4 separate regions of the Homo sapiens genome follow, and regions 1, 2 and 4 are each linked to region 3. Evidence: promoter capture Hi-C in human tissues and cell types (Jung and others, 2019). All regions are on one chromosome and are shown on one strand. The core of a region is centred on a gene start or on the middle of the fragment in contact, and the rest is flanking DNA. Distances in the headings are between cores, read along the strand shown.

What was found. Contacts are between HindIII fragments. The study calls those that stand out against the background at their distance.
Region 1: a contact is called between a fragment that was not itself captured here and the fragment with the promoter of NPC2 in region 3, in 2 of the 25 tissues and cell types used here (bladder and hippocampus).
Region 2: a contact is called between a fragment that was not itself captured here and the fragment with the promoter of NPC2 in region 3, in 1 of the 25 tissues and cell types used here (aorta).
Region 4: a fragment that was not itself captured here is called in contact with the fragment with the promoter of NPC2 in region 3 in 1 of the 25 tissues and cell types used here (IMR-90 fibroblasts).

The regions. Positions count from the first base shown.
Region 1 is chr14:74,859,734-74,863,314 of GRCh38, reverse strand. It overlaps PROX2 (prospero homeobox 2), which reads left to right. Exons shown (of 6, transcript NM_001243007.2): 3 at 1-785. Among named protein-coding and RNA genes, the nearest start is that of PROX2, 15 kb to the left of the region's middle. The HindIII fragment of the contact is 3,852 bases long and covers 1-3,581 here.
Region 2 is chr14:74,105,393-74,108,962 of GRCh38, reverse strand. The region is part of intron 5 of LIN52 (lin-52 DREAM MuvB core complex component); the gene reads right to left. All of the region lies in intron 1 of LOC105370563 (a long non-coding RNA gene), which reads left to right. Among named protein-coding and RNA genes, the nearest start is that of LIN52, 22 kb to the right of the region's middle. The HindIII fragment of the contact is 3,681 bases long and covers 1-3,133 here.
Region 3 is chr14:74,491,173-74,494,698 of GRCh38, reverse strand. NPC2 (NPC intracellular cholesterol transporter 2) reads left to right here and starts at 1,394. Exons shown (of 5, transcript NM_006432.5): 1 at 1,394-1,506. The coding sequence starts at 1,425. It overlaps ISCA2 (iron-sulfur cluster assembly 2), which reads right to left and starts at 934. Exons shown (of 4, transcript NM_194279.4): 1 at 854-934; 2 at 547-649; 3 at 309-424. The coding sequence starts at 924. RefSeq lists an enhancer at 852-931 and silencers at 1,132-1,411, 1,582-1,641. The HindIII fragment of the contact is 6,262 bases long and covers 1-3,526 here.
Region 4 is chr14:74,838,731-74,842,440 of GRCh38, reverse strand. LOC105370569 (a long non-coding RNA gene) reads right to left here and starts at 3,275. Exons shown (of 2, transcript XR_944033.3): 1 at 2,296-3,275; 2 at 422-1,840. RefSeq lists an enhancer at 380-539. The HindIII fragment of the contact is 4,426 bases long and covers 1-3,567 here.

The sequences.
Region 1 (3,581 bases), core at 576-3,075, 370 kb before region 3:
GTGCAAAGCAGGGGAATGGCTGTGGGCCTCGCCCCTGGGTTGTGGACGGTGACCACCAGCAAGGTACCAGCAAGGACCTCTCTGGGGCAGAAAAACACCAAGAGTCTGAGAAGCCCAGTTTCCTTCCTTCTGGAGCACCAGCTTCACTAGAGATTCTGAGGAAAGAGCTGACCAGGGCAGTGTCCCAGGCTGTGGACTCGGTATTACAAAAGGTACTATTGGATCCACCAGGCCACCTGACTCAGCTGGGCAGAAGCTTCCAGGGGCAGGTGGCAGAGGGTAGAAGCGAGCCCTCACCTCCTGTGGGAGGGGCCTGTAAAGATCCACTTGCTTTGGCTGCCTTGCCCAGGAGGGTCCAGCTACAAGCTGGGGTCCCAGTAGGAAATTTATCACTGGCCAAGCGTCTAGATTCTCCTAGGTACCCTATCCCTCCAAGAATGACCCCCAAACCCTGTCAGGATCCCCCAGCAAACTTTCCCTTGACTGCACCTTCCCACATCCAGGAAAATCAGATTCTTAGCCAGCTACTGGGTCATAGATACAACAATGGCCATTGGAGTAGCAGTCCTCCCCAGGACTCATCTTCCCAGAGGCACCCCTCCTCAGAGCCTGCCCTACGACCTTGGAGAACTACTAAGCCGCAACCATTGGTCCTGAGCCAGCAGCAGTGTCCCTTGCCTTTCACCTCTGCCCATCTGGAAAGTCTACCCCTTCTTCCCTCGGTGAAGATGGAACAGAGAGGCCTGCATGCTGTCATGGAGGCACTGCCTTTCTCTTTGGTCCACATATCCTTTAATAGCAATTGAAGTTCTCATTGTTGGCCAGGTGCAGTGTGGCTCATGCTTGTAATCCCAGTGCTTTGGGAGGCCAAGGTGGGAGGATTACTTGAGGACAGGTGTTCAAGACTAGCCTGCACAACATAGCTAGACCCCATCTCTAAAAATAAAAAATTATCTGCACATGATGGCCCATGCCTGTAGTCCTACTCAGGAGGCTGAGGCAGGAGGATTGCTTGAGCCCGGGAGTTCGAGGTTACAGTGAGCTATGATTGCACCACTGCACTCCAGCTGGGCAACAGAGAGAGACAATGTTTCAATAAATAATTTAAAATACCATTGACACTGTGCAGAGAAACAAGAAAACTAAAAGTTGAAGAGGAGCTGGGGACAGATCACTCAGGGTCTTCTTAATGTTGCTCTGGGCCTTCAGCTTATAGTGGTGACCACATTCTGGAATTTAAGGACCTGGGAAGGTTCACTTAGCTTCTTCTATGACCCATCGGGTTCTGCCACTTGACTTATTCCTTTGGGTCTAAAAGGGTTTTGTTTTGAGACTCAAATAGGCTTCTGAAATACAATGAATACCCTAAGGAAGAAAGAATCCATAATTTGGTTGTCAGCCACCCATAAACTTAGGAGGAGAGGGTCAAAGGAATGACGTCATCTAAGGTATGGCCTCCCCAACCCCATAGCTCTACAAGCAAAAATCCTATATTGTGTAGATAATTCCTGGGGAGCAGATGAGGAACAAGAAACTTCTGGGCCAAATGGAAAAGGAGTTTTCCTCGGGGATTAAACCCAGAGAGGTGGCTGGAAACGGCCAGAGGTCTCCAGTTTAAGGAACAACTTCCAAGGTGCAATGGAGTGCCTGGAGACTAGGGGCTGGGCATATGAAGGGAGAGGAGGCTCCCCATGAGGAGGCCTGAGTGGCCCAGGCTGATCTGCAGGGCTCTGGATCTTATTGCATCATCTTTGCAACCCTTAAGTAGACACTACTCTCTTAATGTATTTCCCAGAGTAACCCTCGGGATATTAATAATTGTTGAGTTAGAAGAAAAAGTACCTTGGGGAAATACTGAGATAGTTTCTTTTCTGCAGGAATTCTCAGAGCCTTTAACATGAGTAAATGGAAGCTCTAAGAGGAGAATGTACACAGCCCCAAACCCATATGACCACTTCTAACAAGCATCTTGCAGAACTTAAGTTCTTGAGAATATATTTTGGATGTTGCTTTTTAAGCTAGCTGTGCTCACGCTGCTGCTTCTTGTGTGCAGCTTTGAGGGGAATCTCCAGAAGCTGATGAGTCTATGGAGTTGCATATCCAGGTGGGAACAGTCGTGTCCTTTGCCTGGCAACTACTGTGAGGGCAGCAGGATGGGGTGGGACCAGCTCATTACCATGCCAGAACCTGCCTTTGTGTCCTAAATGCCATGAGCGCCCCCTGCCGGTCAAAAGTGTTGGAAACACCCCAAAGCTTTCCTGGAAGTTAGCGAGCAACTGTAAAACCAATGCTGAGAACACTTCACTTGCCACCACTCTTGGAGGCAGAGATTCCACCATAGACAGATTTTCTTTATAAGAAAGGCTACCTGTCTGGGCCTTTGATAACCACTAGTTGACTCTCCATTAAATTCAGACAGCTGCAAAAACACCTCAGTCTCCCAGAATTTGCTATTTGTTGAGCACCTACATGTGCCTGTTCCTGCCCCCTAAATTGGGGATTGGGCTCAGAGAGCTTCTGGAGGTTTGGGGCCTATCCTAAGAAATACCTAAGCCAGGACTGGCTGCATGGGTGAAGTACTTGACTATCTTTGGAATGACTTGGGACCCCCTAGCAGCACCCTGGCCCCTCAACTCTTCCCTCATTCCTGCTGCCTATATTCCAAGAGATTTATTCCTGTGGGCCATGAAAGCCACCTGAGAGCAAGCTGCTTTACAGCATAAAAAGAACGTTCACATTCACATGACATCCTGTGACATAGGTAGGGCAGATGTGAAGATCACGAGGGGAGCATTGACAGAACACCTTCTCGGTGGCAGGCATTGCTACCAGCACTTCACACATATGTGCCCACCACCACTTAGCTACAATTCTGAAACCCATAAAGCTTTGACAGGCCCTATGATTTTCCCCCCCTAAGAATGATGCAATCTTTTTTTTTTGGTAGCAAAACCTGGCTTGCACTGATTGGAGGCTATTAATAGATTTTATCCCACTTAGTATAGTCATACGTTCTGCTGCAGAAATGTTAATGTATTGGATTATACACTGTCTCAGCTGTGGATGTTAATTAATGTGTGGTACACACATCGTATTATCTTTATAAGCTAACAAATTCTGAAATCCAAACTCCATTTGGCTCAGCATTTCAGATAACGGGTTTAGACCTGTATTATCTCACCGTTCTCAAGCATCCACTCTAAGATCGGGTATCCGAGAAGCAGAGACAGAGAAGGGAGCTAACTCGTCCAAAGTCCCAAGACACACTAATGAGCAACCAGGATTTAAACCCGGGATCTGATGGCCAAGTACAAGCTTTAACCACTATACTCCACATCTTAGCAATGAGGCTCAGAGCAGTTAAGTGGCTTGCCCAAGGTCACACAGCTAATAGATGGCAAAATCAGTGTCTGAAACTGGGTCTTTGGAATCCCAATCCAGGATTCTCTCCACAGCATTTGTGGATCTGTAGGAAGGGTAAGTAGGGGCTGATGGGGCAGCAGGGAGGGATCTCCTGTGCAGCAACTAGGTGCCTGGGCCACCTATAACCATAGTCAGTTGGTCTGGTTTCTTTTGGTTAA
Region 2 (3,570 bases), core at 44-2,543, 390 kb after region 3:
CAGGTAGGACACTAAAACACAAGCAACAACAAAATAGATAAATTGGATTTCATCAAAATTTAAAGCTTTGTGATTCAAAGGACACCATTAAGAAAGTAAAAAGACAACCCATAGAATGAGAGAAAACTTTTGCAAGTCATATATCTGATAATGTCATATATGTGATAATAACATATATATGTTTCTAGAATATATAATGAAGTCTTACAATTCAATAATAAAAACACAAACAATACAATTTACAAATAAGCAAAGGATCTGAATTGATAGTTCTCCAAAGAAGATATATAATAAGCACATGAAAACATGCTAAACACCATTATTACTAGACAAATGCAAATCCAAACCACAATGAGACACTACTTCATACCCTCTATGATGGACATGATAATAATTAAAAAAACAAAAAATACAAATAACAAGTATTGGCAAGGGTGTGAGAAAACTGGAACCCTTATACACTGCTTGTGGGAATGCAAAATGGTTCAGCTAGTTTGGAAAACAGTCTGACAGTTCCTCAATAGATCAGATATAGAGTTACCACATGACCCAGGAATTCCACCTCTAGCTATAAACCTAAGAAAATGAAAACATGTTTACCCAAAAAGTTGTGTGTTTTGGTTGAACCTGAATGTTCACAGCAGCATTATTTGAAGTAGCCAAGTAGTGAAAACAACTCAAACGCCCATCACCAGGTAGATAAATACAATGTGGCGTATCTATACAATGGAATATTATTCAGCCATAAAAAGAAAGAAAGCACTGATACATGCTATAGCATAATTGAACACTGAAAACATTATCTTAACAGAAAGAATCCAGTCACAAGAAACCACATATTATATGATTTCATTTACAAGCAATGTCCAGACGAGGCAAATCCATAGAGACATGAAGCCAGTAAGTAACAGCCTAGGTCTGGGGAGTTTGGGAAGTAATGGGGAGTGACTGCTAATGGGTGCAAGGTTTTTCAGGTGATGAAAATGTTGTAAAATTGGTTGTGGTGGTGACTGCAAAATTCTGAATATACAAAAATCACTGAATTGCACACTATAAATGGGGAATTATAGACTATGTGAATTACATCTCAATAAAGCTGTTACCCAAAAAAAAGAGAAAAAAACCAAATGTATCAGGGTCCCAAGGTTTAGCCGTAGTTTCAAATGATACAATCCTCTGCTTTCCCAGTTTTCACATTTTATTTAAAAATATTTCAAAGATAGCTAGTAAGTAGGTCATTTGCATGACTACTAACTGGTCTGTGGTCTTCAGAGATGGGGAAAAAAATCTATGGGCTATGGGCTGAAAAAGTAAAAATATGATTCTTATCTTAAAAAGTTACAATCAGTCCAAGGACTGAGACATGTACCAAAAATCTCCAAGAAGAATGGTAAAAGCACCTTACAAATCAAACAAACAAACTGCTCTAGGGGCAATTTGAGAGGCCAGAGAGAGCACTCACTTTCTAAATCAAGGATGAAAAGGGAAAGCTGATAGAAGGACAGCTTACCGAGAAAAAGGAATAGCATGAGTAGAACTAAGAAGATGGGGAAGTATTCCAGAAAGAGAGGGTAAAAACTGCTGAGAACTAGTATTCAATAGGATTCATGATAATGAACCTTAGGAATAAAGGAAGCAATGTAGTATTGAAACTTACAGGTCTAAATCAGGATCATAAGCATGTAATAATAGTGATGGAGTAGGGTTCAAGTAGAAGATAAACCAAGCGATCATCAACAAGTTTCACACTGTATTTATTCTGTGCTGTTGACCATCCACTGTCATAAGAGAAGACATTCCAGAAATAAGACCTTCAAATATTACGTCTCATCACTAAAACACCAACTACCCAGAAAAAGAACAATTTCCCGAAGCTTCAGACAGAGACAGTGCATGTGTTTTGGTAGAGGAGATGTAAGAAGGCTAGAGTAATCCGGCGAGGGTCAGAATGCAAAGGATTTTGAATGCCACACTAAGGGGCCTAAATTTTATCCTATGGGTAATGAAGTAGTACCAATGATTTATGAGCAAAAGACAAAGAGAAGAAAATGTACTTCAAAAAATCAGGCCGGGGCCGGGCGTGGTGGCTCACACCTGTAATCCCAGCACTTTGGGAGGCCAGGCGGGCAAATCACTTGAGGACAGAAGTTCGAGACCAGCCTGGCCAACATAGTGAAACCCCATCTCTGCTAAAAATATTTTTAAAACGCTGGGCATGGTGGTGCACACCTGTAATCTCAGCTACTTGGACGGCTGAAGCATAAGAATCACTTGAGCCTGGGAGGTGGAGGTTGCAGTGAGCCAAGACTGCACCACTGCATTCCAGCCTGGGAGACAAAGCAAGGCACTGCCTCAAAAAATAAACAAATAAATAAATAATAAATCAGGCTGGGGTAGGCATGGTGGTTCATGTCTGTAATTTCAGCACTTTGGGAGGCCAAGGAGGGAGGACTGGTTGAGCCCAGGAGTTCAAGACCAGTCTGGGCAACATAGTGAGACCTCGTCTCTACAAAATATCAAAAAAATTAGCCAGATATGGTGGCACTGCACCTGTAGTCCCAGCTACTTGGGAGGCTGAGGTGGGAGGATCTCTTGAGCCCAGGAGTTCGAGGCTGCAGTGAGCCATGATAAGGCCATGGCACTCCAGCCTGGATGAGAGACCTTGTCTCAAAAAAACAAACACAAAAACAATGCGGCAGCAGTAACAAGATAGATTGGAATGGGCTAGTTGAGAGGCAGAGGGACCAGCTAGAAGGTGACTGTAACATAGTTCCAGTAAAAGAGGGAGGACTCTGAGCTCAGATGGAAATAATAGAAATGGAATTCTTCATATGCTAAGGCAGAGTTTTACTTTTTTAAATATTTCTATATATTTCAAGGGAATTTCATATAAATTAACTGCCCAAATCAAGCCAAGAGGCCTCAATCATCTGAGAGACTATAAATCCCTATAAGAAAAGTTACTGCATTCCAAAATTTGCACACCAAAAGGGTTATCTGAGGCATAATCATGTACCAATTCAAAGGGTAGCACTCATCTTCCAAAAGACACAACCTAGTTACTATCAGCCCTAGAAGGTTCATATAATTTTTATACTAACATTTAACAATGCTCTTGGGAAGTGACAAACAATCATGTTTTGAGGACAAATATTTTTTGCATTTTTTTTCTTTCCATCATCTTTATCAGTGCAGATATTTGCATAAAAACAGGATCACTGGTCCTTGGGGATTCATCAGTTCCTACTGCTTATTTTTCACCCATGTCATCCTCTCAATTAATGCAGGAAAGAGGATTTAGACATTGAAACACCAGATTAGGGTGTCAAGTAAAAGCCAACCCCTAGAGTAGATGAATAATCTGTAAGGACAAAAAAAAAAAAATCTTGTTTTTAATGCAAATACACTACACACAATAAAACAAAGAGAGACTGTATGTAAGAAGTTCAATACACATCAATGTAATTGTTTCTCATTCTAAATTTTAAAGCTATTTCATGTCAGCTAAATTCACGATGGTCAAGGAAAACGGCAATCAGTTGCAAAGCAATGCTATGGAAATTGAAAGAA
Region 3 (3,526 bases), core at 145-2,644:
CTGATTTTCTTTGAGGCAAAATGATTCAATGGAATAAATACTGGGAAACGTGTAGGGACTTAAGCCTGGAATCTAGTCCGGCCTGACTTTCTACCGACTACCCAATGGACCTGGGCAGATCAATTTTGCTCCTATAACTTAGTTACTTTGATTCAGAACAACAAACCTTTACTGCATCCTCACTGTGAGACGGGCGGTGTTAACCATCCCAGGTAAACCCTTTAAATTTGGAATAAAAGTGCACCTTAAACTGGAGACACTTTTGTCCCTCCTGTACCTCCTTTGGGGGCCCACCCCTTCCTCCTTGCCTGTCGTCGGGGTTGATAACTGTATCCAGTGAAAATTTGTATTGGAATCCGGAGCATCCACCTCCCTCCACTTGCAGCCTGAGGAATTCTGACCCTTCGGTGATTTCCAAAAGCCTCTGAAATGCAGGAAGGGGGATCAAGAATAGCGGGAAACGGGAGTTAAAGGGCTGAGTGAAGAGCAGTTCCCGCTGCTCCCGCCAATCGCCTGGGTACCGCCGCTCCGCGTCCGGCCTCCTACCTGGACGCAACTGTCTGTGAGGCGGATCTGCCCTTCGCCGGCCTCGGGGCTGGAGGACGACGCCTCCCGACGCGCCTGGGGTCCCAGGGAGGCCGTGAGGAGCCTGCGCGCAAGGGAGGAGGGTGAGCCCGGGAGCAGAAGGGGCACCTTGCAACCCTCGACCTGGAGCGCCTCACGCTAAACCTGGCGACCCCCACCTGGACGGCCTCCCACCAAACCCTCGCATCCCCCACAGGCCTTAGTTTCCCATTTGTCCTAGAGGCGCAGAACCAAACACCCTTTCCAGGTGCCTTTCTAGTCTTGGTACCTGCCCCTCGGCCAGGGAGTGACCGCTCTCTGCGTCGCGGCCGTTAGGGACGACCCCCAGGCGGCAGCCATCTTCCTCCACAAGCTCCGCCCCTCGCGTCTCCCCCGTTTCTCACCCGGGGCCTCGGGAGGCGGAGAGAACGAACAGGAGGCCGGGACTTCACGGAGGCCCCGCCCCCCCAACATGCCTATTGGGTAGTGCGGGAGGAGAAGGTGTCTGATTGGCTAGGAATGCTCCAGACGGCAGCGGCGGGGACGCACCCAGGAAGCCGGAGAGGTGCTCTAAAGGGAAGGAACGGGGCGGGGAGGAGTGAGGCGGGGCGGGGCGGAGGTGGGTCCGGGCGGGTCAGGCCTCTGAGGGGATGGCATGGGCGGAGACTGCAGGCTTCTGGGCCTGAGAGGGCTGGAGCTGGCTTTCCGGAGCCGGGGGCGGGGCGCGGGCGGGCCTCAGCTGTGGTTACTGGTGACAGGTCGCCTGACTGGGCTCCTCCCCGGGCCCGCCCCGACAGGTTTGTCTTGTGACCGCGGGCGGCCGCTGCTTCTTTCCCGAGCTTGGAACTTCGTTATCCGCGATGCGTTTCCTGGCAGCTACATTCCTGCTCCTGGCGCTCAGCACCGCTGCCCAGGCCGAACCGGTGCAGTTCAAGGACTGCGGTGAGCCCCAGGCCCGCCCAAGGTTCCCGCGCCCTCTGTGGAAGGCCCCGCCGGACCCCCGCGCTGAGACCCCTGGGGCTGGGCTGGGCGGATCCCTCGGGCGGCCAGGCTGAGCCTTGGACCCTACCTAACTGGAATGGGCTGGGTCGGGGGAGAAGGCGCCGGCCTCCATGAAACCCGACCGCGCACAACTTTGTTTCTTTCCTTAGAACGCGTGTTTTGGGGTTCCTGGGAACTCCAGGAGGTGGGCCTTTTGCTGAAGTTTCCTAAAGTTTGTAGGGCGGACAACAGAAGGGCTGTATCCAGCTCTGGTGGAGGGGTGGAGCACAGAACTTCTTTTTATTTATGCTTTGTATCTTGGAATCCCGCCTCCCCCTTCCAACTCCTTTTGCTTTTCTTTTAATTTCGTTTTTGCTGACAAGTCAAAAGTCAATTCCCCTTTTTCATCATTTATTGTTACAAATAGGACTTCCTTTGGGCTTTGGAATCTTGTGATTCTTAATCAGTTTTTCCTTGTATAAATCTCATTGTGTCTCTAATCACAGCTTGTGATACATAACTCCCTCTCGCCGCTGTGGTTGGAATCTTTGTTGGAAAATACAACAGGTGGTAGAAATTCTGAGTGCCTTCATTGAGTCGAGTCTATAGAATTGTCGGAACAGAAACTCGAGCAATGTTGTTCAGAGGTGGAGATAGAGAGATAGAACTGTCAATGAAAGAGGCATGAAACTGACTTTGTAAGATCTATGAGTGGAAAGGAAGCACGGAGATCGTATAATCAATCATTGAATTCCAGGGATGTTGGGTAGCCTACCTAAAGTCACGCAGCAGAATGGGGAGCCAGAGTAAGTGTAACCGCCCAAGGGGTTCACCTTGCGCATTGCCTAGACAGAGCGGATTTATCAAGATGGGATTTGCAGTGGCGAAAAGAGTAATTCACGCAGAGCCGGCTGTGGGGGAGGCCGGAGTTTTATTGTTACTCAGATCAGTCTCCCCGAGCATTCGGGGATCAGAGTTTTTAAGGATAATTTGGCGGGTATGGGCTTGGAAAGTGGGGAGTGCTGATTGGTCAGGTTGAAGATAAAATCATAGGAGAGTCGAAGTGAGTTCTTCTTGCTGACCTCTGGGTGGTGTCATTTGCTGCATCGGAATGCAGGATCTGCAAAATATCTCAAGCACTGACCTTAGGTTTTACAATAGTGATATCATTACCAGGAGCAATTTGGGGAGGTTCAGACTCTTACAGCCAGAGGCGGCGTGGCCCCTAAACTCGTAGCTAATTTGTTAGTCCTACAAAGGCAGACCGGTCCCCAGGCAAGAAGGGGTTTTTCAGGAAAGGGCTATTATCCATTTCGTTTCAGAGTTTAAACTATAAATTCCTCTCCAAGACTAGTTCAGCCTACACCCAGGAATGAACAAAGACAGTTTAGAGGTTAGAAGGAAGATGGGTAGGTGAGTCCTGATCTCTTTCACTGTCTTAATTTCCTCAGGATTTTTGCAAAGGCGGTTTCATAAGTTTGCTGCTTTATATCCAGTGCCCAGGTAATAGTAACTGCTCAATGAAATGTGTTGAAAACATAGATGGAAATCTTTTTCCCCTATGTCATAAAAATTCATGTTGAGACAAAAGCAAAGTTGGGGATTAGGGGACAGGATTGATTAAGGAATGGAGTGCTGGCCGATTAACACTTAAATGCTATTCCATTGATTTAGGAGACTGGCACTTGAAAGCTATTATCGCTTCAAATTACTGCCTTTCCCTCCATTAAACTTAGTAGCCAGCGTTTGGATGAAGACACTATTAATTTTAATAACTCATTCCGGCCAGGCACAGTGGCTCACACCTGTAATCCCAGCACTTTGGGAGGCCAAGACGGGCAGATCACGAGGTCAAGAGATTGAGACCATCCTGGCCAACATGGTGAAACCCCATCTCTACTAAAAATACAAAAATTAGCTGGGCATGGTAGTGTGCACCTGTAGTCCCAGCTACTCGGGAGGCTGAGGCAGGAGAATCGCT
Region 4 (3,710 bases), core at 105-2,604, 350 kb before region 3:
TCAAGAGGAATCTGGAGAAGTAGCTGGGATCATGTTACTGATAGACTTTAACGCCAAGTTGATGAATTTGTCCTTAAAAAGATTAGGAATGGAGCGCTACCGAGTGAAGCAGGTAAGATGCTCATCACTGGGTGAAAGCAAATGGACTAGTTACATAAGAAATTACAAATTAAAGAAAACAAAATTATTAATAGTTCTGTAAGCTATTTGCATAACAATACACAAATGATTTTCTCTACTTTGTGGAGAAAACTCCACTGCTCTTGTACAATCACTGAATCCAATACTCTGTTAATTTTCAAGCTTCTGTTATTCATGAGAATTACCCAACCAAGTAGTAAGTGTTTAAGAGGGATCCTAGGTGTATAGCTACCTTATACATGAGAGTTTAAGGAAGTTGGTTTCAGAAGTAATCACATTGTTCCTGATAGTCATATCAGAATGTATTTCCAGGTCCACAGAGTTTAGTAAATACACACATGTCCACTTGCACACGACACACAAAATAAAGGAGAATTCACCATCCTAGAATTTATGAAGGTCTTCATAAAGGAGGTATTGTAGTTAAGAAAAAAGAAAGTGACAGGTTATGGACCAGGAAACCCAAATTCTAGTCTTGTTTTGCCACTGAGTAACAGTGAGACTTTGAGCAAGTCACTTCCCTTCTTTCGGTCTCAGAAACCTCATCTGTAAAACAAGAAGGATCTCACCAGAACCAACTCTAAGGTCTAACCACTTCTCTAAATATCAAAGGTTTCAAGCCGGCAGTCCACAAGTCAGATGTGGCAGGCAGGCTGTGAGGGCCAAAGCACTCACAAACAAAAAGAACCTGATGCTGAAATACTGGAAGATCTCACATAAAAATCCAGATTTTTCACTTTTTCTTGAAAACCCAGGAAATCTGGCAATATGAGACCTATATCCCCACATGGCCACAATCTGCTATGGCTGAGCAGGTGCTGCCCCCGATTGACCTGACCTATCTAGTTGTCTAGTTTACCAGTCTCCACCCTCTGCCTTGCTCATCTGTTACCTGCCTGAGTCTGTGACCCTTGCCATACACATAGGAAACATTCCCTGTATTTACTCACTCTACAGATATATGAGCCATGCACTGAGCCAGATGCTGTAAAAGAAATAAGCATCAGACATATCTACTTGAGAAATACAAACTCACTGTCAGAAATAACAGATCTGAGAGTGGAATTTCAAGTTATGGCAGAAGATATTATTTCAATTTTTCAAATATGGTTAAGAGATGGATCTGTAGCCTAGATCAGTATTTTCAGGAAAAGGAGTACGAATATTTGGTAAAAAGTTCAAGCTTCTTAAGTAGAAGACACAAAGTCAAGCCTTTCCCTATACAGTAAACCATTAAGTCCACAGGCTCTTTGTAGGATCACAAATGCAAGGCACTGCTGGCAGGCAGAGGGCTGTACATGAATGCAGAAGCTCAGCCCCAGTCATAAAGATGCTCCTTGACTATTTCAAATGTGAAAGCAATGGACCTGAAAACTGAGAATGGATCAGTCACTGAGGTGCACGTGCATATAAATATCCAGGTTCTGAGAACAGTGACCTAAGGTATTAACTCTCAGTCACGTGTGGACCAGGGGATCATCAGAGTCTCTGACCATTCTGGTTCTCTAAGACACATCATGGTTCTTTGCTTTGTCAGTCTCCTATCATGCAGAATTTTCCAGGAAACAAGATGTGCCTTCGTCATCTCATTACTGTCATACTGTCTTGAGAGTTCACCGCTGTGCTGTGCTGGTCCTTAAGTGCTTGTCATCCTTTGAGTATGTCTATGAAATGGTGCCATCGGTATTTTCCTTCATTGCTAGAAATCAGGCAAGTACAGGAAGCTGCAGAATGACTGAGTATATGTGAAATTCATAATTTATAACAGTAAACGAGAGCATGAATACCCATTAATAGAGACTCTGTAAGTTAAAATGATAGTAAAGACATAAAACATTCTGCAGCTGCAAAAGAGAATGAGTTGGAAAGCTACTCAGCAATAAAAAGGAATAAGCTATTGACACACATAACAACTTAAATGAATCTCAAGAAAATTACGCTGAGTGAAAAAAGCCAAAATGCCAATCCCAAAAGGTTACATACTGTATGACTTCATATTTATAACATTCTTTAAATGACAAGATTATAAAAATGGAGACCAGATTAGTGGCTGCCAAGGGTTAGAGATGGTGGGGTTGGGGGACTAGGAGAAAGGTGGAGGGTGGTTACACCAACCTACATATATGAAAGAATTGTATACAAATATACCCATACCATGTATTCCATGCCACGAAAAGAACAGAGATGCAGCTGAAACAATTTCTGAAATTTTTCAGTAAACCTCTTTATATTATGAAGGTACCTTTGGAAAACCAAAGAAGGAGGTGGGGGGGAGAGAAAATGTGAATATTTTATATATGATCTGAATGACCTCTAAAACATACTGGTAAAGGAAAAATAAGGTAGTGTGTGTACAAAAACCAGGTAAAAACATTAATACTTAATGCTTATCCACACAATTTTTCTCAACACTGGTTGCCTCTACAGATGGAGTCGTGGGAGGCTGAGGGTTAAGATGGATGGGACACTTGAACCTCCTGAGTTTTATACCTTTATGAACGCATTATTTATTCACAAAGTTACTTTCTTCTTGAATATGTGAAAATCAAGGCAAATCAATGATTCTGTGCCCTCACCTATGTTTATACCTGTGGTCTGACAACTACTTTCTGTTACTACTCAACCCCCTCTAAGTACTAAATTACCTTTTACACCTGAGCCTCTCAAGCCTCCGTACTAGTTCTGAAAATCAATGTCACTGGTTACCTGAAAATGCTTCTGAATAATTACTCTTTCAACACACTGTACTATTACATATGACATAGCTCAGTCTATGATAGCTGACTATAAAACGTGACAACTATCTTCAAGCCAGCTGGATATTTTGAATTTCAAAAAGAACACATGAGAACAAGTCAAAAAGTAACGATGATGGTGACTACTGATTTTTGAGCTTTTACTATGTGCTCAGTACTGTGCCAAGTAGCTTACATGCATTATCTCAATGTTTAATAGGTGTGTTTTGTTATTTTCATTTTATAGGCAGGAAACTGAAGCTCAGATAGGTTAAAATATTTCAGCCAGGCACGGTGGCTCACGCCTATAATCCCAGCACTTTGGGAGGCTGAGATAGGCGATCATTTGCTCCCAGGAGTTCAAGACCAGCCTGTGAAACATGGCAACAACCAATCTCTTAAAAAAAAAAAAAAAAAAAAAGGCTGGGTGTGGTGGTGCACACTTGTAGTCCCAGCTACCTGGGAGGCTGAGATGGGAGAATCACCTGAGCCCAGGAAGTTGAGGCTGCAGTGAGCTATATCGCGTCACTGCACTCCAGCCAACAGAGTGAGACCTTGTCTCCAAAAAAAAAAAAAAAAAAAAAAAAGTTGCTTAAGGTCATACAGCTTCTAGAAGAATCTGAACTTGTATTAGGGTCTGTGAATACTAAAAATGAGAAATCATTCTCCTTCTATGGCTTAGCAAAACTTATCTCAGCTGAGAATCTGTTGCTTTTATAATCCTAGTAATTAAGCCAGGCTCTAGACATCTTTACCAAAATATCTGCAATTTGCACAGTTAGCAGGATAAAATACTTAACACAAAAACTGAGGGGCCTACAAAATAAGAAAACC